3 separate regions of the Homo sapiens genome follow, and regions 2 and 3 are each linked to region 1. Evidence: promoter capture Hi-C in human tissues and cell types (Jung and others, 2019). All regions are on one chromosome and are shown on one strand. Each heading gives the region's core, a stretch centred on a gene start or on the middle of the fragment in contact. The rest is flanking DNA. Distances are from core to core; before and after follow the strand shown.

What was found. The method cuts DNA at HindIII sites, captures the fragments that hold promoters and counts their contacts. A contact is called where the count stands out against the background at its distance.
Region 2: a fragment that was not itself captured here is called in contact with the fragment with the promoter of PELI3 in region 1 in 1 of the 25 tissues and cell types used here (dorsolateral prefrontal cortex).
Region 3: a contact is called between a fragment that was not itself captured here and the fragment with the promoter of PELI3 in region 1, in 1 of the 25 tissues and cell types used here (hippocampus).

The regions. Positions count from the first base shown.
Region 1 is chr11:66,465,483-66,468,923 of GRCh38, reverse strand. It overlaps PELI3 (pellino E3 ubiquitin protein ligase family member 3), which reads right to left and starts at 2,019. Exons shown (of 8, transcript NM_145065.3): 1 at 1,897-2,019; 2 at 644-796; 3 at 20-91. The coding sequence starts at 795. RefSeq lists silencers at 1,532-1,881, 1,892-2,101 and an enhancer at 3,053-3,441. The HindIII fragment of the contact is 25,810 bases long and covers 1-3,441 here.
Region 2 is chr11:67,107,108-67,110,433 of GRCh38, reverse strand. No RefSeq gene overlaps it. Among named protein-coding and RNA genes, the nearest start is that of KDM2A, 10 kb to the left of the region's middle. The HindIII fragment of the contact is 4,720 bases long and covers 1-3,326 here.
Region 3 is chr11:67,231,165-67,234,618 of GRCh38, reverse strand. It overlaps KDM2A (lysine demethylase 2A), which reads right to left. Exons shown (of 21, transcript NM_012308.3): 12 at 2,659-3,053. Among named protein-coding and RNA genes, the nearest start is that of GRK2, 34 kb to the left of the region's middle. The HindIII fragment of the contact is 4,272 bases long and covers 1-3,454 here.

The sequences.
Region 1 (3,441 bases), core at 770-3,269:
TCCCAGCCCTGCCACTTACCAGCTGTGTGCCCTTGGGCCAGTCACTTCCCCTCTCTGAGCCTCGGTTTCCTCACCTCCTTCCTCACAGCATCTTTGTGAAGATTGAAATGAAATAATGTCCATGAAAGGGCTTGGCACAGGCCTGCCTCCCAGAACACTCGATATGTGCTAGGCGCTGTTCTATGTACTTTACAGAAATCACCTCATTCATTTCTTCCAACAACCCTCTGAGGAAGGGATTATTATCATCCCCATTTGCAAAACAGGGGAAACAGAGGCACAGGGAAGTTCAGCAACTTGCAGAGGCAGGATTTGAACCAAGCAGTTTTGCTGGAGAACCAGAGTTCTTCACCCCACACCACACACACTAGGTGCTTTAGGAAAGGCAGCTGGTGTTAACATTTTTCTCATCTGATCAGGAAGTTGGGTGGTTAGAGTTGTCACAGTACTTTGTGAAAAATGGGAAGATAAAATAATAATTATGAATTGAGGTGGGTTTGGTCAATTTTGTCTTTCAGCTAGGAAGGTGAGGAGGGACAAACAGCTGAAGGCCCTATGTGGGGGGAGGAGGGGTCGGGCCCTTGTTCTGGCTGCGTTGGGTGGGTGTCTGGTGCTTCACCCCTTCTAGGCCAGGGATGCTCACCCCAGGACGATGAGTTCACCATACTTGATGGGCTCCTCGCCTGGCTGCGCATCTTCACCGGGAGAGGAGAGAACGCAAGAGCCCTTGTTCCCCCGGTGCTGGAGGTCTGAGGTTCGGGGGGACCCCACTTCAGGGTTTCCTTCCAGCACCATTCTGGGCAGAGTGGGAGAGAAAAGAGCTTTGTAGGTTCCCACCCCAGCCCGGCTCAATTCCAGCTGCAGCCTGCTGCAGGGCCGCCTAGGCTAAGGCAAGGGTGACCTTTCACCGCCTCTACTGCTATGGCAACCACTTCCCCTCTGCCTCCTCTAAACTGCCCGAGGTTGCTGGGATACCAGGGAGGGGTGGCACAGTGAAGAGAGTCAGGATATTCAGTGGTGCCAAAGAGATGGACCAACTTGGGGTGGCCAGAGGCTGCTTTTTGGCCAAGATCCCAGTCTGGGATGTGCTTCAAAGCGGGGCACCCAATGAGTTGGGGGCCGTTACCCCTCATCTCAGACTCAGTTCCTGCTTATAGCTCTTAGCCTCTGGACCTCTGATTTAGCCTCTCTGACAGGTTCTTTGAATCTACCTGTCCATCTGAATCTTTCTTGCCCCTTTGAGGTCTAGGCCTCTGTCTGTCCATCTGCTTTCTCAATGACTCTCTGTCCTCCCAGCCGCTGTCCTTTTTGCCGTCTCTCTCCCCCCATTCCCCATCTCTGCCTGTCTGCCCGCCTCCGCCTCACCATCTGCCTCAGTCTCCCCATCTCGGCCTCCCCCTGCGGGTAGGCCAATAGACTCCTCCTGGGTGCGCGCTCTTCCCTCCCTCAGGTGTCTGTCTGCGTCCCCAGCCGCCCGGGTCTCAGGAGGCCTGCGGAGGCGGCGCTCCCCCCTCGAGCTCGGGCTGCAGCACAGCCGTCTCCCGCAGGCAGCCCGTTTGGAAAACATCCCCGCGCCAGAGGGACCGCGCCGGGGCAGGCCCGCGCCCTGCGCCCCGGGCGGGCAGAACGGGAACCGCGGCCCAGCACCTACGCAGGTCCACACCCGGCGGCCCCTCCGCACAACACGCGCGCGTGCACGGCCCCGCACGCCCCGGGCCCGGACGGCGCAGAGACCACCCGCACCCGCGACCGCAGGGACGCGCGGGCGCGCAGCAGCCACCGGCGCCCGCCCTCGGACCCACTCCCTCCACCACCCCCAGACACGCAAACACGCCCCCCGCGCCCGCCGGGGCCCGCCTGGCGCAGCCCCCGCCCCCTCCGCCCCGGCGGCCTCACCTGGCCACGCTCCGGGCCCCGCTGGGCGCCGCTCCCTCCCCGCCTAGCCCCTGCTCGGCCCCGGGCCGCTGCGGCGGGATGGGCCCGGCCCGCGGCGGCTCCGCGCTGCCTCGTCACGGGGACACCCAGGGCCGGGGGAGGGGGATGAGCGCGAACAGCCACGCTCCGCCCCCTGTCCGGAGGCCCCGCCCCATTTTCCCCGCCCCTAGGAGAGCTCCGCCTCGCTCCAGACTCCGCCTCTTGCGGCGATGCTCAGCCTTCGTAGGCGGAGCTCCGCCCCTTCGCAGGAGACCACGCCCTTCCCCTGGTACCGCCCTCTGACCAGGGAAGCCCCGCTCTCCACTCCGTCTGAGGGACTCCCTTGCCCCTCCTAGCCGGCTCAGGACTCCCCCGTAGTCTACACGACCCCTCCCCCATTTCAGACTCCCCAAACTCCGCCTCCATTTCCGGGGACTCCGGGGTTCTCCCAGAGACATGGGCGCCCCTCCCCACTGTCGGTCAGGGCCCTCACACGGCGCTGGAGGCCCCTTCCCTAGCCTTAGGCCCGGGACTACGCACCCCCAGCTCCGACACCCCGCCTACCATCTGGGGACGCCACGCAATTAGAGGAGAGGAGGAAAATGCTAAAGGCAAAGGGGGTGTGCGGCAGCGGTGGAGGCCGGGGAAAGCAGCTGCAGTTGACCAGAGTCGCAGACCTGTCTTCCAGCCCAGCTCGGGCACCCCCCATTCCCCTCCCCTCAGTCCCCTCCCCTCCGCCAGGATGCACACACCCCCCGCTGTGCTGCAAAGGAAAGAGAGTTTTGGGGGAGCACCGCCCCTTCTGGGCCTGGGGCTTGCGAGAGATCTATCAGTCTACGTTAGGCGCTGTGCGCTGTGCTTTGAGCAAATTAAACCCTTTACTTTAATCCTGGGAGGCAGGCACGATAGTTGCCCATTTTACAGATGAGGAAATAGATTTACAAAAGTGACTTGCTTGTTGTAGTTTGCTAGAAACGGGCCAAGAGAGAATCTCAGCTGTATGAGTGGCTTCAGTCTCAACTCCTAACTTCGTACCTTGTCGTTCTGACTAGGGATGGAGCCTCAGAGGTGCAGAAGAGAAACCTTGTCTGCATCAGGTAAGGTCCCTATTGCTCAGTACTCTTGGTCTGGAACTATAAAGGCTGGATTATAGTTCCAGATCAAGTCTTTGGTCTTGTGGGGGGCGGTGGGGGTGTTTAATGAGAAAATCAAGGAAGACTGCACAGAGGAGGTGGCTTTTGACTTCCATTATGAAGGATGCATGTTTAGTTTGCCTAAACATTCCTGAGAGGGAGCCGCTGCCACTCCCACCCCCACAAACTTGTTGCACCTGAAGTTCCCCATCTACCAGACTCCCCTGGGGCCCTACTATATCCACCCCGCTAACTCCTCCACCTAAAAATAGCCAAAGATACCAACTGCTTTGCCAACTGTTCTGGGGCCCAGCGGCTAGATGAAACAAGAAAGCAGCCGACGGCACATCCTTTAGGGGAAAAGACACTCGTTAGTCACAGAGAATCTCCCTGC
Region 2 (3,326 bases), core at 735-3,234, 640 kb before region 1:
TCGGCCTCCCAAAGTGCTAGGATTACAGGAGTGAGCCACTGCTCCCGCTCGTTTTTGGTGTTTTTTTTTGAGACAAGGTCTTGCTCTGTTGCCCAGACTGGAGTACAGTGGAGTAATCTCGGCTCACTGTAATCTCTGCCTCCTGGGTTCAAGCGATTCTCCTGCCTCAGCCTCCCAAGTAGCAGGGATTACAGTTGCACACCACCGCACCCGGCTAATTTTTGTATTTTTAGTAGAAACAGGGTTTTACCATGTTGGCCAGGCTGGTCTCAAACTCCTGACCTCAAGTGTTCTGCCCACCTTGGCCTCCGAAAGTGCTGGGATTACAGGCATGAGCCACCGCGCCCAGACAGGAGTGCAGCTTTTGATGTGATATTATAAGCTTAATATCTCCAATCAATTATTTTTCATTATATCTCTTTAATTATAATGTACATTATATTTAAACAGTGTAACTTTAAAATGACAATATTGTTTTTTCCCCCAAAAAATGCTTGCTAAATATTTAAACTCTGAAAATGTATTTGGTCTTTACCTTCTTTCTGGCTAAATCTATTTTCACACTCTCTGGGGGACTGCAAGAAAATATTGACTGAGTTTAAGGTAAGATTTTCATGGTTTTTTTTTTTTTTGCAATTATACTTGATTTGCCACAGCTTAGAGTTCATGTTCGATTTGGTCATAATTTCTAGATCTACTTTTACTGTTGATCAAATAATCTTCCTATTGGTGAGCTTCATATCATTAACTTTCTATTCCTGCATAATGTTATTGGTGGAAGAAATGTGGGAGACCCTACATCTATACCTCATTCCTTTATTACTGGAGCTGATGACAGGATTTACCCATCTGTCTATTTATTTCATTTTTTTAAATTTTATTTTTTTATTATTATAATTCTTATTTTTTGGGATGGAGTCTCACTCTATCACCCAGGCTGGAGTGCGGAAGTGCAATCTCAGCTCACTGCAGCCTCTGCTTCCTGGGGCTTCCTGGGGGTTCACGAGGTTCTCCTGCCTCGGCCTCCTGAGTAGCTGGGTTTATAGGCGTGCGCCACCACACCTGGCTAATTTTTGTATTTTCAGTAGAGACAGGATTTCACCATGTTGGCCAGGATGGTCTCAATCTCTTAACCTCAAGTGATCCGCCCACCTTGGCCACCCAAAGGGCTGGGACTACAGGCGTGAGCCACTGCGCCCGGCCCCCTAGCTAATTTTTAAATTTTTTGTAGAGATGGGGGTCCCACTATGTTGCCCAGACTAGTCTCAAACTCCTGGCCTCATGGGATCCTCCTGCCTCAGCCTTCCAAAGGCTGGCTTGGGTTTACAGAAATGAGTCACTGTGCCTGGCCCGATATATTTTTAGTTTATATGTTTCCATGGGTGAAGGTTTATGCTTTGCGTAAATGTTGGTAGTTTCTATAATATGTCTTACTATTTTACATTTCTTTCCTTTTTTTTTTTTTTTTGACAAGGTCTTTCCTTCTGTCACCCAGGCAGGCTGGAATGCACTGGCACGATCATAGCTCACTGCAGCCTCAACCTCCTGGGCTCGAGTCCCTGTGTTGTCCCAAGCCGATCTCAAAACCCCTGACCTCAAGTGAGGCCACCTGACTTCCACACCTCATCCTCCCAAAGTGCTGAGATTACAGGGGTGAGCCACCATGCCCAGCGGTATTCAGTATTTTATTTTCTTTTTTTTGTTTGTTTTGGAGACAGAGTGTCACTCTGTTGTCCAGGCTGGAGTGCAGTGGCACAATCTCAGCTCACCGAAACCTCTGCCTCCTGGTCTTAAGCCATCCTCCCACCTCAGCCTTCCCAGTAGCTGGGACTACAGGTACACACCACCATGCCCAGCTAATTTTTTTTTTTTTTTTTTGAGATGGAGTCTTGCTCTATCACTCAGGTGGAAAGCAGCAATGGCACAATCTCTGCTCACTGAAACTTCCGCCTCCTGAGTTCAAGCAATTGTTCTGCCTCAGCCTCTCAAGTAGCTGGGATTACAGGCATGCACCACCAAGCCTGGCTAATTTTTTTTGTATTTTTAGTAGAGACAGAGTTTCACCATGTTGCCCAGGCTGATTTCGAACTCCTGACCTCAAGTGATCCGCCCGCCTCAGCCTCCCAAAGTGCTGGGATTACAGGCGTGAGCCACCACACCCAGCCAATTTTGTATTTTTTGTAGAGATGTGGTGTCACTATGTTGCCCAGGCTGGTCTCAAACTCCCAAAGTGCTGGGATTACAGGCATGAACTACCATGCCCACCACCGGAAGTATTTTCTATTTCATTTTACTATTTACTACTCATGTAATATATCCTATAATGTATTTTATGCATTTTTCTTGTCAATGAATTCAGAAAAGTGGACAAATGGAATACGCAATTCTGACTTGCCATAACATAATGTGGAATCCTCAGTGGCTTCCTTTTTCTGAAACCACATTGTGCCTCTTGATGGGACCATATTTCTTTCTTTTTTTTTTTTTTTTTCTTTGAGACAGAGCCTTACGCACTCTGTCGCCCAGGCTGGAGTGCAGTGGCGCGATATCATATCAGCTCACTGCAACCTCCACCTCCTGGGTTCAAGCAAGTCTCCTGCCATAGCCTCCAGAGTAGCTGGGATTACAGGTGCACACCACCATGCCCAGCTAATTTTTATATTTTTAGTAAAGATAGGGTTTTACCTTGTTGGCCAGCCTGGCCTGGAACTCTTGACCTTAGGTGATCCACCCACCTCAACTTCCCAAAGTGCTAGGATTACAGGCATGAGCCACTATGCCTGGCCTCCATGTGTATTTAAGTTGCTCCTTAATACACAGGCATAGGCATATAATTGTGATGCTTTTGATAGGACAATGCCCATAATTTTCACTGCTTTCTCTTTGTTCTCTGGTGTATTTCTTTTCTTTTATCTTCTTGTGTGTGTGTGTGTATGTGTGTGTGTGTGTGTGTGACAGTTTCGCCCTTGTTACCCAAGGTGGAGTGCAGTGGCGCGATCTTGGCTCACTGCAACCTCTGCCTCCTGGGTTCAAGCGATTCTCCTGCTTCAGCCTCCCGAGTAGCTGGGATTACAGGCACACACCACTGTGCCTGGCTAATTTTGTACTTTTAGTAGAGATGGGGTTTCACCATGTTAACCAGGCTGGTTTCGAACTCCTGACCTAGGTGATCCGCCCACCTAGGCCTCCCAAAGTCCTGGTATTACGGTCGTGAGCCACTGCGCCTGGCCTCTTGTTTTTGAGATGGAGTCTTGTTTTGTCACCCAGGCTGGAGTGCAGTGGCGCGATCTCGGCTCACTGCAACCTCCACCTCCCAGGTTTAAGTG
Region 3 (3,454 bases), core at 159-2,658, 770 kb before region 1:
AGGACAAGAGGTGTGAGCCACTGGGCTCAGCCCAAGTCAGTACTTTTTAATGTCCTATTTTTTCACTTAATCCTCTTCCAACTCTATATTCTATGACTTGTTCTTCAACGCCTTAGAACCTAAAAAAAGCCCTTTTATCACAGCACTGAAATGCACTATTTTTCCTTGGAATATTATGAATATCTCATCTACCACTTTTCCCCTCATCTCTTCTACTAATTATTCCTGAAAGCCAGATAGGTTACAACAGCAAACAATTCCTTTCTCTGCAGGAAGGGTAAACTGTACTAGCTTTGTCCCCCACTGAAGTATAGCCATCAGTGCTATAAGCACCAAGTTTTCTAGCACTTGAAAGTCCCCAGCTGTGCAGTGATTCAGCAGCTACCCAATCTAATGCTTTTTTCTTTTGAGTGATGCTTAGATTCTCAAGGTATTCAAGCTCTAAGCTTGCTATATCTTTTCTGAGATTTAGCATAACTGATCAAATATAGGAATAATTAATCTATTTGATCTTAAGTGAAACTACACCTGCAGAGCTGGAATCTAAATCTGTTGTCTTCTGACGTCAGCTACATTTTGACTGTGGTTTTGGGTAAACGAGAAGCTGTGGACAAGTCTCTGGAGGGAGAATTCAAACACTGTCGGCCTGTGTAGTCATCTCACTGGCTACTTGTTCCTCATGCTCTGGCCTCTGCCACTATATCTTAGCCAGTGATGGCAGTCACGTTTTTCAGTGGTCCCTGATAAACACAAGCAAGCTATCTCCGGACACTTTTCATAATGCTAAGCCTCCTCTTTAGATGTCTCTTCTTAACTCCCCTCTCTTCTTGCTGACTCTGCTTAATATTTAACCCAAATCTTTCTACTTTTTCCTTTGGTATACCATTGTACCACCCTTTCACCTCAAATCTCCTTATTTAGCTACTTTAGTTAAACTACTCCAATGGATTTGTTGTTGTTGTTGTTGAGACAGGGTTTCACTTCCATCACCCAGGCTGGAGTGCAATGGCGCAATCTCGGCTCACTGCAACCTTTGCCTCCCAGGTTCAAGGGATTCTCCTGCCTCAGCCTCCTGAGTAGCTGGGATTACAGGTGTCTGCCACCACACCCAGCTAATTTTTGTATTTTTAGTAGAGACGGGGTTTTACCATCTTGGCCAGGCTGATCTTGAACTCCTGACCTCGTGATCTACCTGCCTCGGCCTCCCAAAGTGCTGGGATTACAGGCATGAGACATCGCACTGAGCCTTTTTTTGTATTTTTAGTAGAGATGGGGTTTCACCATGTTGGCCAGGCTGGTCTCGAACTCCTGACCTCAGGTGATCCTCCCACCTTGGCCTCTCAAAGTGCTAGGATTACAGGTGTGAGCCACTGTGCCTGGCCCCCCTAAATTTATAAAATGGCTTAAAAGTAGCTTAAAATAATCTATGTGAGGTTTTCAAAATAACATTACAACTTGTAGATTAGCTTTCTAATATACATACCCATTGTTCCAAACACTGATTTAAAAATAAAATTGCTATTTCCAGCTTTACAATTCTTGGTCTTCACATTAATTGTTACTTAGGAGGAAAGACTTAAAATAATTTCCTCCAGTTTAGATAGCTCAAGGTTGGGTGTGGAGGCTCATGCCCGTAATCCCAGCACTTTGGGAGGCTGAGGCAGGCAGATCACCTGAGGTCAAGAGTTCGAGACCAGCCTGGCCAACATGGTGAAACCCCATCTCTATCAAAAATATAAAAAAATTAGCCAGGCATGGTGGCACGTGTCTGTAATCTCAGCTACTCAGGAGGCTGAGGCACGAGAACTGCTTGAACCCGGGAGGTGGAGGTTGCAGTGAGCCGAGATCTTGCCATTGCACTCCAACCTGAGCGACAGAGTGAGACTCCGTCTCAAATAAATTAATTAATTAATTAAAATTAAAAAAAAAAAAAAAAGCTCAAGTCTGGATTCCTTAAGAAAAATATACAATATGAAGGGGAGCTGGAGGAGGGATAGCATTAGGAGAAATACCTAACATAAATGACGAGTCAATGGGTGCAGCAAACTGACATGGCACATGTATGTCTATGTAATAAACCTGCACGTTGTGCACATGTACCCTAGAACTTAAAGTATAATTAAAAAATAAATAAACATAAAACTTGATAAAGCAATGGGATGAATTATTTTAAAATGATGCTTTTCCCAATGTATTTAAGTCTTGATGCTAGATAAATTTGAATCTAAAGAGGCTAAAGCTACTCAACGTTAACCCAGCATAGAACAATTTCATTTCTCTCAATCTGCTTAGGATGAGACTCCTATCAGTCACTTTTGTCCTGAGTTTTATCTCAAGGTAACTTAAGTTTAATGTAACATTTCTTATATAAATATTTTCTTTGGGTCACTTTATTTTTGGGGTCAGCCTGAAACCTATGTTTAAGACTAAATTTATAAGTCTTCAATGAACACATAAATGTTAGTATTTTCAAAACAGGGACATAACCTCATTCTAGTAATGAAAACACTGAGCAGCAATAACAAACACACATGCATATTAACTTCTCTCTGACTGAACCAGAGATCACCCAAAATTCCTATATTTTCTCCCTCTGAATCTGGAAGCTGACTGCCATAGCTGGATCAGTAGCTGTCATGTAACACATCAAACCCTTACCTTTACATCAGCAATGAGAGCATCTTCATCTTCTATCCCTGTGGGGACACATTTCTTGTGCAGTGGCAGAGACTCCAACTTATCTACAAGGCAGCGAAGGCCTTCAAGCTCAAAATGGGTCAGATGCACTTGCCTGTCCTTTCGGGGAGCACACTGGGGATCCCACACTTGTCCATTGTGGGAGCCCCGGCTACAGTCAGAAGATGAGTCCCCAGCCAAAGTTTTCTTCAGACTTGGAAGACTTCGGCAGGTTTTGCCCAGTCCATCATAATCCAGGTTGACTCCATTCGCTACAGGGCTAGTGAGGACAGAACGCCTGCTGCTCAAGCGTCGGGGTTCTCGATCCACTGCTTCCTCATCCCCATTCCCAGACTCCAACCCATTTAACTCCAAATCTACCAATATGAAGAAAAAATGCAGTAAGAACATTTCACTCTGCCATGTGATCAGCAAGAGAAATAGGTGGCATGATAGGGGCCTTGAGGCTATAAATGACAAAATTACCACATTTAAAAAAATGGTCTATCTTTATTCCAACCCATTTGTCCACTGTTCAAAATCACAGTTAACAGGTAGAAACAGGATCCTGACCTAGGAGGACACCTAGGTAATAGTCAATTGGATTTTTTAAAGTTTGGGTAGGACCTAGTCTTTGAACTGTGTACTAGAAATCAGTTACTTATCAAAGTGGTTGTAAAGTCAGTTTCAAGTTAAAGCTTGAATCTGGGATTATTATTTCATTACCTTTTAAAAGAGAAGACACTAAGAAGCATGTATGTTTAAAAAATAGTTTTAG